Linked DNA regions of Homo sapiens: regions 2 and 3 are each linked to region 1. The links are contacts of gene promoters, found by promoter capture Hi-C in blood cells and fetal thymus (Javierre and others, 2016). All regions are on one chromosome and are shown on one strand. Each heading gives the region's core, a stretch centred on a gene start or on the middle of the fragment in contact. The rest is flanking DNA. Distances are from core to core; before and after follow the strand shown. Region 1 holds the start of TGM2 (transglutaminase 2). Region 2 overlaps LBP (lipopolysaccharide binding protein). Region 3 overlaps BPI (bactericidal permeability increasing protein).

Region 1 (4,207 bases), core at 1-2,500:
GCTCAGGGCTCACAGTGGATCCGGAAGCACAGGAGACCAAGAGACCAGAGATACCAGGATGAGAGATAGGACCCCTGGTTGCCAGGTTCGAGAAGTCCTAGGCTGAGTCCCTGGAAAGTTAGTCTTGCTCCTTTCTGGCACACAGTGGGGCCTCAAGAAAGCTCAGTGGATGGATGGATTGAGGGAGGGAGGGAAGAGAAGGCCGAGGGAGGGATGGATGAAGGGATGAGTGGATGGATAGGTGGGGGGGTAGGTGATGCATGGGTGAGTGGATGGATGGGTAGATGGATGGCTGATTAGATGGATGGCTGATTAGACAGATACAAGGATGGGTGAGATCGGAGGATTATCTGGGTTTTGCTACAGGAAGGGACATGGGTGTGTCTGTTTTTGCAGGTGTGTCTGCATGTCTGTACCTGAGTCCATGCCTGCATGTGTGTCTACCTCTGAGTAGCCACATCTTTGTGTGTCTGTGGGTGCCCTCTCTGATTTTGCGTCCACATCTGACAGTGGCATTGGTGTCTAGGAGGTCTGTGTGTGTGCCAGGTGCCTCTGGACACCTGCTCATCTGTGTCCACAGCTGTGTGTGGCTCGCGGTCAAGGCTACCTGGCTGTGTCAGGCTGTATCTATGTCCTGGTGTGTGTCTGCCATTCGAATCTGAATTTGTATCCATGTCACTGTGTCTGCGTGGCCAGCCGTGTTTGGTGTATCTGTGGGAGTGTATCTGTGTTTGTGTGTGTATCTCCACAGCCCTGTCTTGGTGTGTCTGCGTCTGCTCTCTGTGTATGTATATCTGAGTATGTGTGTGAGTGTGTGCGTGTGTGTGTGTGTGTGTGTGTGTGTGTGTTGGGGGTGGGGAGGTGTTCTTGATCCCAGATCTGACCTAAGAGTCCACATCTGTGTGTCCAGGTGCACCCCGGTTCCGTTGTGTGTTTCTATGAGGGTGCTGCGTGTGTCTGTATCTGAGTGTGTGTGTCCAGGTGTCTGTTCTCCAAGGTCTGAGTCTGTGGGTCCAGGTGTGTCTGTATCCTGGGCTAGTTGTGTGTCCCTGTCCGCTCCCCCAGGGGGCGCCCTCGTCCGGCCGCCGTCCCTCCCTCGGGCTCCGGTCCCCTGGGTGAGCCCCAGCGCTGGCGGCGTGGGCCCGGGACTGGGCAATGGGTGGCCTCCCAGGTCGCCGCCTTCCCGCGGGGCCCCGCCCCCGGCCCGCCCCAAAGCGGGCTATAAGTTAGCGCCGCTCTCCGCCTCGGCAGTGCCAGCCGCCAGTGGTCGCACTTGGAGGGTCTCGCCGCCAGTGGAAGGAGCCACCGCCCCCGCCCGACCATGGCCGAGGGTGAGTATCAGAGTCACCGCAGCCGCCACTCAGGGGCCCCGGGGCATTGGGGGTCAGGACCCGGTGGGAGCTGAATCCCTAAGTCCTGATTTGGAGAGCAACAGGCAGACCGGGCTGGGTGAGGAGGCGTCTCAATGCTGCTTGGAGCCTCAGTTTCCCCATCCACACTGCATAACCATTAACCCTTGCCTCCCTGGATCAGGTGAGGCAATGGAACGCGACGGGGTGTTGTAAACTGTAAAGTACTGTCCTGGCGGACCACTGGCACGTGTCCTCAGTCAGTCAGTGGGGGCTGGCTCTCTGATGTGTGCCTGGAGCTGTGCAGGGGGTGCTGGCCTGGCCTCAGAACACTTAGGTTTGGGTGGTTCTTGCCAGCCAGGACCAGGTGGTGTGCATGCCACGCCGGTGGTGTGCAAGCCAAGCCTGGCTGAGTCCTTGGCTCCAGCGGCCAGAGAGGAGCTTTCGGCATCCTATCCAGGAGCCTTCGGAAATCAGGCTTGTTCTTCCCGCCCTCACGTTCTGCAACCCTAGACCTTGGCCAATTGTTGAGTCTCACCTATAAAATAAGGACAACAGTGTCCTTATTTTATAGGACAAGGTTTATGAGATTTGTTTTCCCCCAAGACCCCCACCCATCTGTCACCCTGACCGTGCCCTGGTCCTCTGCTCCAGCCTTTGGTGCATCTGTGAGGAACGAGAGGAGTGGAACAGAGGCTTAACTAATTTCATACTGGTGCCCCTGACTCCCTCCCCACACACAAGCAGCACTCTCGTAGGTCCCAGCTGGAGGGATTTCTACAATGGAGGATGTCACTGCTGGACCCAGAATCCCAGCTGGCTCTTGGGTCAAGTTCATCTGGGGATGGCTTCTGCACCCATTGCAACCCCCAGGAAGGGGTGTGGGACAGGGACATGGGGCAGGTGGAGCAGGAATGGGTGGCAGGAACTGTGGACCCACCTGACCCTGCTGTGTGATCTCAGCCACCTGCCTCCCTCGGGCCCAGCTCCCAACACACTGTGATGTGTCGCCTCGGTGGCCGCTTGTCCTCAATGCATCTTCTCACCCCCATGCTCAAAAGCAGGGCTCAGTGGGGCTGGGAGATCCTGGAGATGCCAGTTATGATGAGCCTCCAGCCCCATGTCACAGTGGCCACTTCTGACAGAGGTCTCACTGGCCTAGAAGGCCTAGGCCCTTTCTAAGTGCAGAAATCCTATAAATCCTACAATTCTAGACCTGCATCTTTGGAGCTGGGCGTGATTTCTGGAAACCCTTCTTCGGACAACAGATGGAGAAAATGCCCCAGCTCCCACAGCCCAGGGACTGGCCGTATCTCCAGGGTCTTCCATGGGAACAACAATGGCCTCTTTCCTGCTCAAGCTCCCTGGGTCTGAAGTTTCCAAAAACATTTCCTCGCCGCAATAGGCCAGCAGGAAGTTTTTCCTTCTGGCCACTGAGGTCTCTTCTGTTGTGATTACACGGGGACCGACATCCCTGATACTTCAGTGGCGCAGAACTATCTGCCCCCAGGTTTGAGAACAACACAGGACATGGTGGCGAAGGGGTGGTCATAAGAGGGGCTGGAGAAAAAACTGAGCTGTAGTGAGGTGGTTCCCAGGGCAGAATCCTACAGAATCCTACAGCTCTGGATTCCAATCCCAAAGCAGCCACTTGCTCTGGGACCTGGAGCCACCTGGTGTCTTTGTCTACAAAATGGGAATCATGATAGCATCTATGTAAGCGGAGTTGTTTTGGGATTTAAGTCGAGATAATTCACATACAAGGCACTTTGCATCTCATTTTTGGAATAGTCGATGGTGAGCAGGAGACCTGGGCTCTCCCACTGCAAGGACCAACTTGCGGCGTGACTTTGAACAAATTCCTGCCCCTGGGCCTCACTTGGACCACATGCTGTCCAGTGGCTCCACACTCAGAGTCTGTCTTGCCCACTCCTCCCACCTTAAGGGCTTCCCCATCCTGACCTTGAGCTTGCCAAGGTTTATGAGATTTGTTTTCCCCCAAGACCCCCACCCATCTGTCACCCTGACCGTGCCCTGGTCCTCTGCTCCATCTGAAACTGTAAATGGAACTTTCACGTATCAAGCTTCTGTCCTGGGCTGGGCCGTGGGGAAGGGGGTTCCCAACACATCTTCTAGACTCACAGCAGCCCCTTGAGACTTCAGAGGAGGAGTCACAGAGAGGGAGAGACACTTATCCAGGCTCACACAGCAACACAGCAGAACTAAAACCTACCTCTGGAAGTCTCCAAAGCACCTATCATGTTAAAAATGTTTTGTTTTGGAGAATATTGAACATACACAAAAATAGACAGAATTGTTTAATAAATTCCTATGTCCTCATCACCCAGCACTGACCACCGTGGTGTCTCCTGCCCCTGCGCACCTTCATCTCAGACATCACATCATGTCATCTGTCAATGTTTCAGTATATGCCTTTAAAGGATAAGGACTCTCTTTTTTTTAACACAAACAAATTAACAAAAATTCTTTGATATCACCATTATGCCATCAGTATTTAAATTTCCAGTTGTCTCATACATGTAATAAATGTTTTAAAATACTTTTTTGAAATCAAGATCCAAATAGATCAATACATCACAACGGGTTTAAGTTTCTCTTTATAGGTTCTCTCTTCAATGTTTTTTTCATTTTCTTTCTTGCAATCTATTTATTAAAGAAACCGGACCCTTTGTCAATAATTTCCCAGTATATGAAGTTTGTCAACTGCATCCTGGTTCTGTGTTTAACTTGTTCCTCAGCCCTGGGTATTTCCTGTAAATTGAACATTGGATCTAAAGGCAAAGGCCATGTAATTGACCTGTACCAAATACTGCCCCTGCTTAAACCAAAAGAACCCT
Region 2 (4,207 bases), core at 843-3,342, 210 kb before region 1:
CCCAGGAGAGCCCTGTTTTCCAAGTCCAACTCTCTTTCCTCCAGACAGCAGTGTTCACTTTTGACTTGGAAAAATCCACAGTGATTCTTACCATTGAACTTGGGGTAGAAGGTGTTAAGGATGTAATAGTTGAGGAGCGCTTCCAACAGCTCTGCCTGGAAGAGAACAGGAGAGATATATTTACATCGCCACAGGGCCACATGGTGGTTCTGTGTGTGCCAACATAGCAAAACGCTTGGGAAAAGCAAACTAGTATTACATCATGCTACTATTTTATAAGATAAAACTCTTTTGAGATGAACATTTGGTATGCAAGTGAATAGAAAAATTTTGGAAAGTTACACACCCGACAGTCTTTCCTCTAAAGGAAGAACATCAACATTTGACATGTCCTTAGCCTTATCTTTAGTATCGGTTTTATTTACAGTGAGAATGTTTTTCCTGAACTACCTACATAATTTAAAAAATTTAATAAAAACAAAATAAGCTTCTCTACCAAAATCATGAAACACAACTTCTAACCCCCACTATATGCCAAGCAGAGAGCTCAGAGCTTTACGTGCATGTCTGATTCAATCTTCACAACAACCCCTCAAAGTTCATATTAATGTCCCTATTCCATATATCGGGAAACTGAGGCCTACAGAATGAAAGGGACTTACTACAAACTGGGCAGCAGCATCAGGATTCGAATCTAAATGTATCTGAGTCTGTAGTTTTTGTTTTTACATTTCATGCTCTGAAAACCCGACAGGATGGATTTTTGTGAAACTTCTCACTTGAATGTTTTACTTTGCAGTAAACACGCACAGATACAATATGAGTGCACCATTATTCACTCCACCCTTTATTCTCTGAAAGGAGTTAGCTTCAGGGTCCCTGCATCTCTCCCCACCGCCTCTGTGTTTGTTTCCACTTCATAAGTGCTTCGGGAAAGTCTGGGAGGCAGGGCACAGGTGGAGGTGGTCAGTGGAGGCCAGCATCATGGAATGGTAAAAGAGAAGCCAACGACTACACATTAAAGTCTACCCAGCTCCTCCTTCCCTCTTTCCAGAAAGCTCTTCTCCATAACTTTGGCCCACACTGATTTTCACGTTCTCTTTCCTCCTTTTATTTGGGGCCGTCTACTTCACCACTTTTTCTACCTTGTGGAAATCACTTCTTGGATTTACCTGCTCAGCACTCAATCCCTCTTGTTTTGATAACGGAGTCTATTTTCCCCCAGGGAACAACCCTCCTTGCCAGTCTTGGTCCATGTGCTTTGGATGTAGCTGACTGCAAATCCTGCCTCCTGGAGTGTAGATGAGATCCATGCTGGGCTGACTTCTGGCCACAGTGCTTGGCTTAAGACTGGGTGCCTAAGATTAGTCCAATGAGAGCTAGCACAGAGATTTTGTGTGTGTGTGTGCAAATTTTTTAAAAAACTGAAACTGTAGGAAACTCTGGGGCTTGCTACCAATTGGAAGAGCCTGCCTGAGAGTGAAGCTAACACAAATGAAAACAGAACAGAGAGATGGAGAGAGATTCTTGATGCACTAATTAGAACACCTGGATCCAGCTATGCCTGAAACCTCTGGTCTTAGTTTTTTCGTTTATTTTTGCTTTTCAATTATATAATCCTATATATTTCTCCTCTTTGCTTAAGATGATTTCAATTGGCTTTCTGTCTCTTGCAGTTAAGAGAATTCTGTTCAGTAGATGACTTAATTATATATTGTTTTATACTAGGATATAACTGTTCCTTGGCCCTATGTCTTGTGTTTTCGAGACCTTTTACACTTCTGCAGGGCAAAAAATCAACTCTTCTCCTTTTGTATTTCCTATTATAGGTGCCATAGCAATTGCTTAGGAAACACCCCAAATTAATTAACATTCTAATCATGTCATCAATAAAAACAACTTACATTGAATAGTCCAACTTTGGATTCTTTCAGTTCCACTTTTACCCTGTAATGAATCAGAGAAGATTAAAAGGTGTGGGCTTTATGCAAGTTTAAGCAATGCGGGGGTCCCCAGAAGCGAGAAAGGATGGGCTTGAGAAGGCACAGGGCCAAAGGTAGGGCGGGAGCAGGAGTGGAAAAGATGACTGAGGAACTAAAAGCAGTGATACAATGACATCGGGAAGACTGTCACAGGGCAGATGAGATAGTGTCAAAAAGCTCACTCTTTATCATTTCAGGAAGTTCATATAGCTGGCTTCTAAAATTCATACATTAAGAAGTAACAGTCTTAGTGAATTCTTTAACAATTTGAGATTTGTGGGGGCAGGACCAGTGGGGCAGAAGAATTGGGCCAATTGGGGTGAAATGTAAGTGTCCTTTCCAAATGGTGGCCCCCCCTCCCACCAGCTACAGAGAAGCAGCTACAGCATACAGATGGAGTCCAGCTGGGCACCCCCATGTAGGTAGGAGGCCAACTTACTTTCCTGGCTTCAGGAACCCAGTGATCTTGCTGGTATTGAAGGTCAAGGTGGCGGACACATTAGTGGCCTGGAAATGCCAGAAGAAGGAAGCAGGTGTAAGTGATGAAGGTTGTATGTATAGGAAGGATGATGACGAGGGACCAACTGTCTCCTCTCAACAAACAGCTCAATGAGCTAAAGCAGGAAATTTGCCCACTAGATCATAGACTCCCAGAAGGCTCACTGTAGGTGCTCAAACAATATTTGAACTTGGACTTGAACATTTTTACTTGAAATTGTTGTTTATGTTAGCAGTTAAACTTTGAACAGACTACTAAGAGAAGGTATAGAGTACCTACCCTTGGAAAGCTCTAAAAAGGATCATTTCTAGTTATCTCAGGTCAAGATTCAGCCCTAGTAACAACATTAATAAATTATTATTATTGTTTTAGAGATGGAGTCTCTGTCTGTCGCCCAGCTGGAGTGCAGTGGTGCAATCATGGCTCACTGCAGCCTCAATCTCCTGGGCTCAAGCGATCCTCCCACATCAACCCCCTGAGTAGATAGGACTACAGGTGCATGCCACCAGGCCTGGCTATTTGTTTTTTCTTTTTTGTAGCAATGGAGTCTTGCTGTGTTGCCCAGGCTGCTCTCAAACTCCTGGCCTTGTGTGATTCTCCTGCCTTGACCTCCCAAAGTGCTGAGATTACAGATGTGAGCCACCACACCCAGACAGTAAATTATATTTTAATTTAAAATATATTAATAATGACACTTTTGATAACAATAACAACAATATTAAATTGCAGATATAGCCTCTAGGAAGAATTACCCTGGTAGAGATTTGACTTGTTGATTTCAAAAGTCAAGAAACAAGAGAGCAGAGTTCTCCATCCAGGGAGCAAGGCCCCCAAAGGACCCAACATCCCTTCCCTATTAGACAGAGTCCATCAAAAAAGGAAAACTGACTCTCAATGTTTAACGCAGAGGGAATTTAATACGGGGAATTGGTTATACAAGTGATGGAATTGTTGAGAAGCTAGTAAAGAGTTGGTGAGGCCACCCAGAGATTATCCAGAGACAGGAGGCTGTATCCACCCCAGGACTAGAGGAACAAAGAGTGGAGGTGGAATTATGGAAGTCACCATGAGGAGACATAGTCACAGCCAGAGCCTCTGCCGTGGTAAAGAAAGAGGAAATAGTACTCTGGCTTCATCCTTCCTCCCCGCCATCATTCTCCTGACAGTACCTCCCATTGGTTGACCTGGGTGGAAATCAAAGTGCAAAGAAGCTTGGGAAATGTAGTCTTCCAAGGTCAAAATAGACAAATAGACAAACACCAGTATACCTTTCTCCCCACAATAGCCCAGACTCACATAGTGAGAGATACATGCATTAAACAAATACACCTGCAGACAGCTACAAAGTATCTTTGTAGTAAACGCTGAGAAGAAAGATAATGGGGTGTTACAAGAAAAAGTGGCAAGGGGCGTAAGGTAGATTGGGGGTAAGGGCCAGCAAGAAAGCCCTCTCTCGGGAAGTAATATTTAAGTTGAGACCTGGAGGAATTACCCAGGTGGTGAGTGGGGAGAAAAGCATGTGGGGAAAAGGGAAAAGCATGTGGGGAAAAGGAAACAGCATTTGCAAAGGCTCTGAACCTTACCACACTGAGCCGGAAGACAGGCTCCTTGCTGGAGCTGGGCAGGAGCACAAAGGCATCTATCTCCATATAGGGGTCCACAGACAGATTCCCAGGGCTGAAGTTCAGGAGCGGAGCAGAGGGCACTGATCCCTGGAGTTCCAGGT
Region 3 (4,207 bases), core at 73-2,572, 140 kb before region 1:
TCCAGGAGGAGCCCAAAGCTAAGAAAGCAGGCTTGGCAGATATGTAGGCAACTGGAGTGGCTTAGGTTTTGAAGTCAGAAAAAACTTGCATTTAAATCCTGCTCTTTAATATACTCTTGGGTTACCTTGGGCATAATTACCCCAGCCTCAGTTTCCTCATCTGTAAAATGGGCACAGTGATTGCTATTTTGCAGGGTGTGTGGCAATCAATGAAGATAAAATAGAAGGCCCTTTCACTGGAAGCTCTGTACAGAAGAGCTCTGTATAGCTCTGTCTTGTTTCACTATTGCAGCCCCAAAGCCTGCTGTGTCAGACACACAGTGGGTGCTCAAAATATCTGTGAATGAATGGGTGTATAAAACTGTAGAGGACTTTTATGGGTTTTCTGCCCAGTGCACAGCCCCCTTCTTGTGATAACAGAACTACTAGATTATTTAGGGGAAGCCCCTCCCCATATCTGTTCCATGCCACTCCAAAGAAAGTTGACCTCACGTCCATCTTCGGGGGTGGAGCTTGCAACTTAGGCTCGGCCAAGTAGTGTATTTCATTCCCTGGCTACAGTGATTGGCTCAGGGCTGTGTATATAATCTGAGGTGGGCCAGTCAGAGTGAGTCTTAGGGCTCTTTGTTCAGAGTGCTGAGCAGGAGATCTAGAGAGACTTACTGGTGGCTGTCTTGCCTCTGGAGGGGACACACTGCCTGCGAATTAGGCCTGTCCAAGGAAGTGATGCTGAGAGGTGGCAAGAGAGAAACAGGGCCCAGTGACATGTAAGCCTGCCTCAAGCTGAACCTGAAGCCAGACTCTTCCAGAGACTTTCCGGCCATGTGAGCCAATGCATTCTGCCTTAAGCCATTTTAGAAAAGATTTTCTGACCTTGAAAACTTGCACATTCTAATTGACATATGGCGCAGAGTTTGGGGGTTCATGACACACTTCCTGGGAGTCGTGGTTTTTGTGGCTTCCTCCACGCTCAGCTGGGAGGTTGCCTCCCCTTGGGATGATGTAAATGCAGGCTTTGGGATATGAAACTCTGTGAGTTGAGGAGTTTGTGGCTCTGCATTCTAGCTCTTGGTGTCCCCAGAACACTACAAGTCCTGCAAATCGAGGATTGAGCTCTGATAGGCCTCACCTGTAGAAGCTATAATGCCCCTTCCCAAGATGCTTGATCTTAAAGCTGTCTGAGTAGTCAGGAATCTTGATCCTCTTCAGCTCCTTCTGCAGAGCGGCCGTCCCCTGCTGGCTGGCTGAAGGGAGAAGGCAGGGGTGACAGTGAGAGGCACAGCCTGGAGCAGGGGACAGAGGGGCAGGGCAGGCTCTGGACCCTGGGCCCCTGTTCGTAGCATGGACAGTGGCACTGGAAGGGTCAAAAACAGGGATCAATTAAGGTTTCCTAGAAAAGGCCAAATAGTAAACTGACCCTTTATAGGAAACCATATTGCCTCTGTCACAAATACTCAGCTCTGCCATTACTGCACAAAACAGCCATAGACAATATCATGTTCTTATATGTGCCTGTATTCCAATAACACTTTATTTGTTGGCATTGAAATGAGAATTTCATATAATTTTCACATGTTGTGAGATAGTATTTTTCTTCTTTTGTTGTTGTTTTGAGACAGGGTCTCGCTGTGTCGCCCAGGCTGGAGTGCAGAGGCATGATCACGGCTCACTGCAACCTCGACCCGCTGCACTTAGGTCATTCTCCCACCTCAGCCTCCCTAGCAGCTGGGATCACAGGTGTTCGCCACCACACCAGGCTAACTTTTTAAAAATTTTTTTTTAACATTTTTGCAGAGATCTGGGGTTTCACCATGTTGCCCAGCTGGTTTCGAACTCCTGGGCTCAAGTGATCCTCTCACCTCAGCCTCCCAAAGTGCTGGAGTTACAGGCATGAGCCACCATGACCGGCCCTTTTGATTTTTTTCCCATCATTTAAAGACATTAAGGCCATTTTTGTCTTATAAGCCATACAAAAACGGAGGGCTGTAGTTTGCTGACCCCTGGTCTAAAATATCACCCCTGAAACACCCAGTTATGCCTCCTGCTAGTTTTTGTTGGATACTTAATTTGTTATTTGCTCTATGCTACACCCCCACAGATCTCCCACCTCTCTGGGTTTTGGACTGTCTCCCCAGGGCCTTTGCACATGCTATTCTTGCTCCCTAAGAAATTCTTCCCTCCCATATTCACCCGGTCAGCTTCTAGTCAGCTCATTCATCACTTCCTCTGGGAACCCTCCCTGGCTTAGTAGATCAGAGCAACGCCCTGTGTTATTCTCATGATGCTGTGGACTGCTCTTTCGGAGCCCCTGTTACCATTTGTAATTATGCATTTATTCACGTGACTCTGACGAATGTCTCTCCCCTATTACATGTAAGCCCCCTGAAGTCAGCAGCAATCTGTTTTATTTACTCGTGTGTCCCTTACATTCCCATTGTGCCTGACACTTTGAAGGCACTTAAGATTTGTTAGATGAGGCTGGGTGCGGTGGCTCACGCCTGTAATCCCAGCACTTTGGAAAGCCAAGGCAAGTGGATCACTTTAGGTCAAGAGTTCAAGAGTTCAGCCTGGCCAACATGGTGAAACCCCGTCTCTACTAAAAATACAAAAAATTAGCTGGGTGTGATGGTGCACGCCTGTAATCCCAGCTACTTGGGAGGTTGAGGCAGGAGAATCACTTGAACCCCGGAGGCAGAGGTTGCAGTGAGCTGAGATGGCACCATTGCACTCCAGCCTGGGCCACAGAGCGAGACTCGGTCTCAAAACAAAACAAAAAAAGATTTATTAGATGAATAAATAATGTCCTAATGGCAGGAATTCTACCACCAGTTATAATGTGGCTAACAGCATCAAAGAACCAATTAAAAGGCAGACACATTACCTGAAAAGGAGTAAGTAGTAAGATGAGGGAGCCCAGACTTTGGGTTTTCTCGGAGCCAGTTAGGAAATAATAATATCAATGAAATGTATCGAGCTTTACTCTGTGCCAAGCACTGTTCTAGGCTCCGTATATGTATGAATTTGTACAATCCTAGGAAGTAGGTCCTGTCACTACCCCCATTTCACAGATAAGGAAGCTGAGGCTCAGAAAGCTGAGGTGACTTGCTAGGGGCCACACAGCGGACAAGGGGCAGAATTTGAACCCAGGCCTTCTGGTCCCAGAGCCCATGCCCTAGAGAAGGCTTTCTGGGGGTTCAAAAGTAAATGACACATAACTGGTCACTGTGTGGAGGGAAAAAAAAATGTGCAGTGGCCAGGATCTGTAAGTTGACAGGGGCCAGGCCTCGAAGGGTCTCAAATGCCATGCCAAAGGGTCAGGATAGCTTCTGAAGGCAGTAGGGAGCCATGGAGAATGTGAGCCAGGGGAGGATGTGTAGGGATTTGCTGCATTTCAGAAAACTCACTCCGATTGGCACAAGGGGCCTGGGTAGAAGGGGAAACTCAGGCTGCTATGACGGAGCATGAAGACCACTGAACTTAAAGACCCTGACTGAGCCTCTGTGTCGACAGGCTTCAGGGCCATACTCCTTCCCCCTAGCTCTTCTGTCTTCTGTGGCCTTCTGTCTGCAGCTCTAGGATTCAGTGATGTCCTGCTGGGCTGGGGTGGGAATTCAGGGGTGGGATACCAGGTCCCCTGAGTCCTGTCTGTTTTCCCAACGCACCCCAACTGGTGAGGCTCTGCCTTCCCCTTGGTCTGATTTCCCTGGGGCTGGGTGTCACCCACTGTTTTGCAGGTCATCTCTCTGCCATCGGGAGGCAGCATCGAGCAACCCCGTGCTGGGGCATCAGGCAAGACCAGAGCTCAAATCCAGGCTGCCCACTTCTCACGTGTAAATGTGGATAGCAGCAGTTTGTCTTACACAAGGCTGAAGTGAGGGTAAAAGAGACTGTGTGTGTAAAGTTCCTAGCTCAATGCCTGGCACAGGTTAGAGCAGGTCTTTCTCTCCTCTGCCTGGGCTGGGGTGAGTGGTCTGGGGGGACCCTCTTTGTGTCACCCAGTGGAGCACTGTGCACAGTATGGCCGCCAGCCCCTGCAGTGGGGAGAGCACGGGGTGGGGAGGTCCTCCCACACTCTCCCTCTGACCCTGCTCAGCCTCCTCAGCAACGAGAGGCAAATGGCAAGGCTGAGAACTGGCTTTGGAAAGAAGAGAAGGGCTTATAAGTCAAAGGTGGAGGTTACATAGAGGGAAGGAGGGGACCATGAGGA

What was found. Contacts are between HindIII fragments. The CHiCAGO score rates a contact against its expected background, and 5 or more counts as called.
Region 2: a contact is called between a fragment that was not itself captured here and the fragment with the promoter of TGM2 in region 1, in 1 of 17 cell types (monocytes). The highest score is 5.4, in monocytes.
Region 3: a fragment that was not itself captured here is called in contact with the fragment with the promoter of TGM2 in region 1 in 3 of 17 cell types (neutrophils, monocytes and M0 macrophages); the score reaches 9.0 in neutrophils.

What each region holds. Positions count from the first base shown.
Region 1 is chr20:38,162,313-38,166,519 of GRCh38, reverse strand. It overlaps TGM2 (transglutaminase 2), which reads left to right and starts at 1,250. Exons shown (of 13, transcript NM_004613.4): 1 at 1,250-1,331. The coding sequence starts at 1,322. RefSeq lists a silencer at 958-1,397. The HindIII fragment of the contact is 3,789 bases long and covers 1-3,435 here.
Region 2 is chr20:38,369,020-38,373,226 of GRCh38, reverse strand. LBP (lipopolysaccharide binding protein) reads right to left here. Exons shown (of 15, transcript NM_004139.5): 10 at 4,065-4,207; 11 at 2,422-2,489; 12 at 1,905-1,947; 13 at 92-155. Among named protein-coding and RNA genes, the nearest start is that of LBP, 25 kb to the right of the region's middle. The HindIII fragment of the contact is 3,205 bases long and covers 490-3,694 here.
Region 3 is chr20:38,304,604-38,308,810 of GRCh38, reverse strand. It overlaps BPI (bactericidal permeability increasing protein), which reads right to left. Exons shown (of 15, transcript NM_001725.3): 2 at 1,130-1,244. Among named protein-coding and RNA genes, the nearest start is that of BPI, 2.6 kb to the right of the region's middle. The HindIII fragment of the contact is 8,601 bases long and covers 1-4,207 here.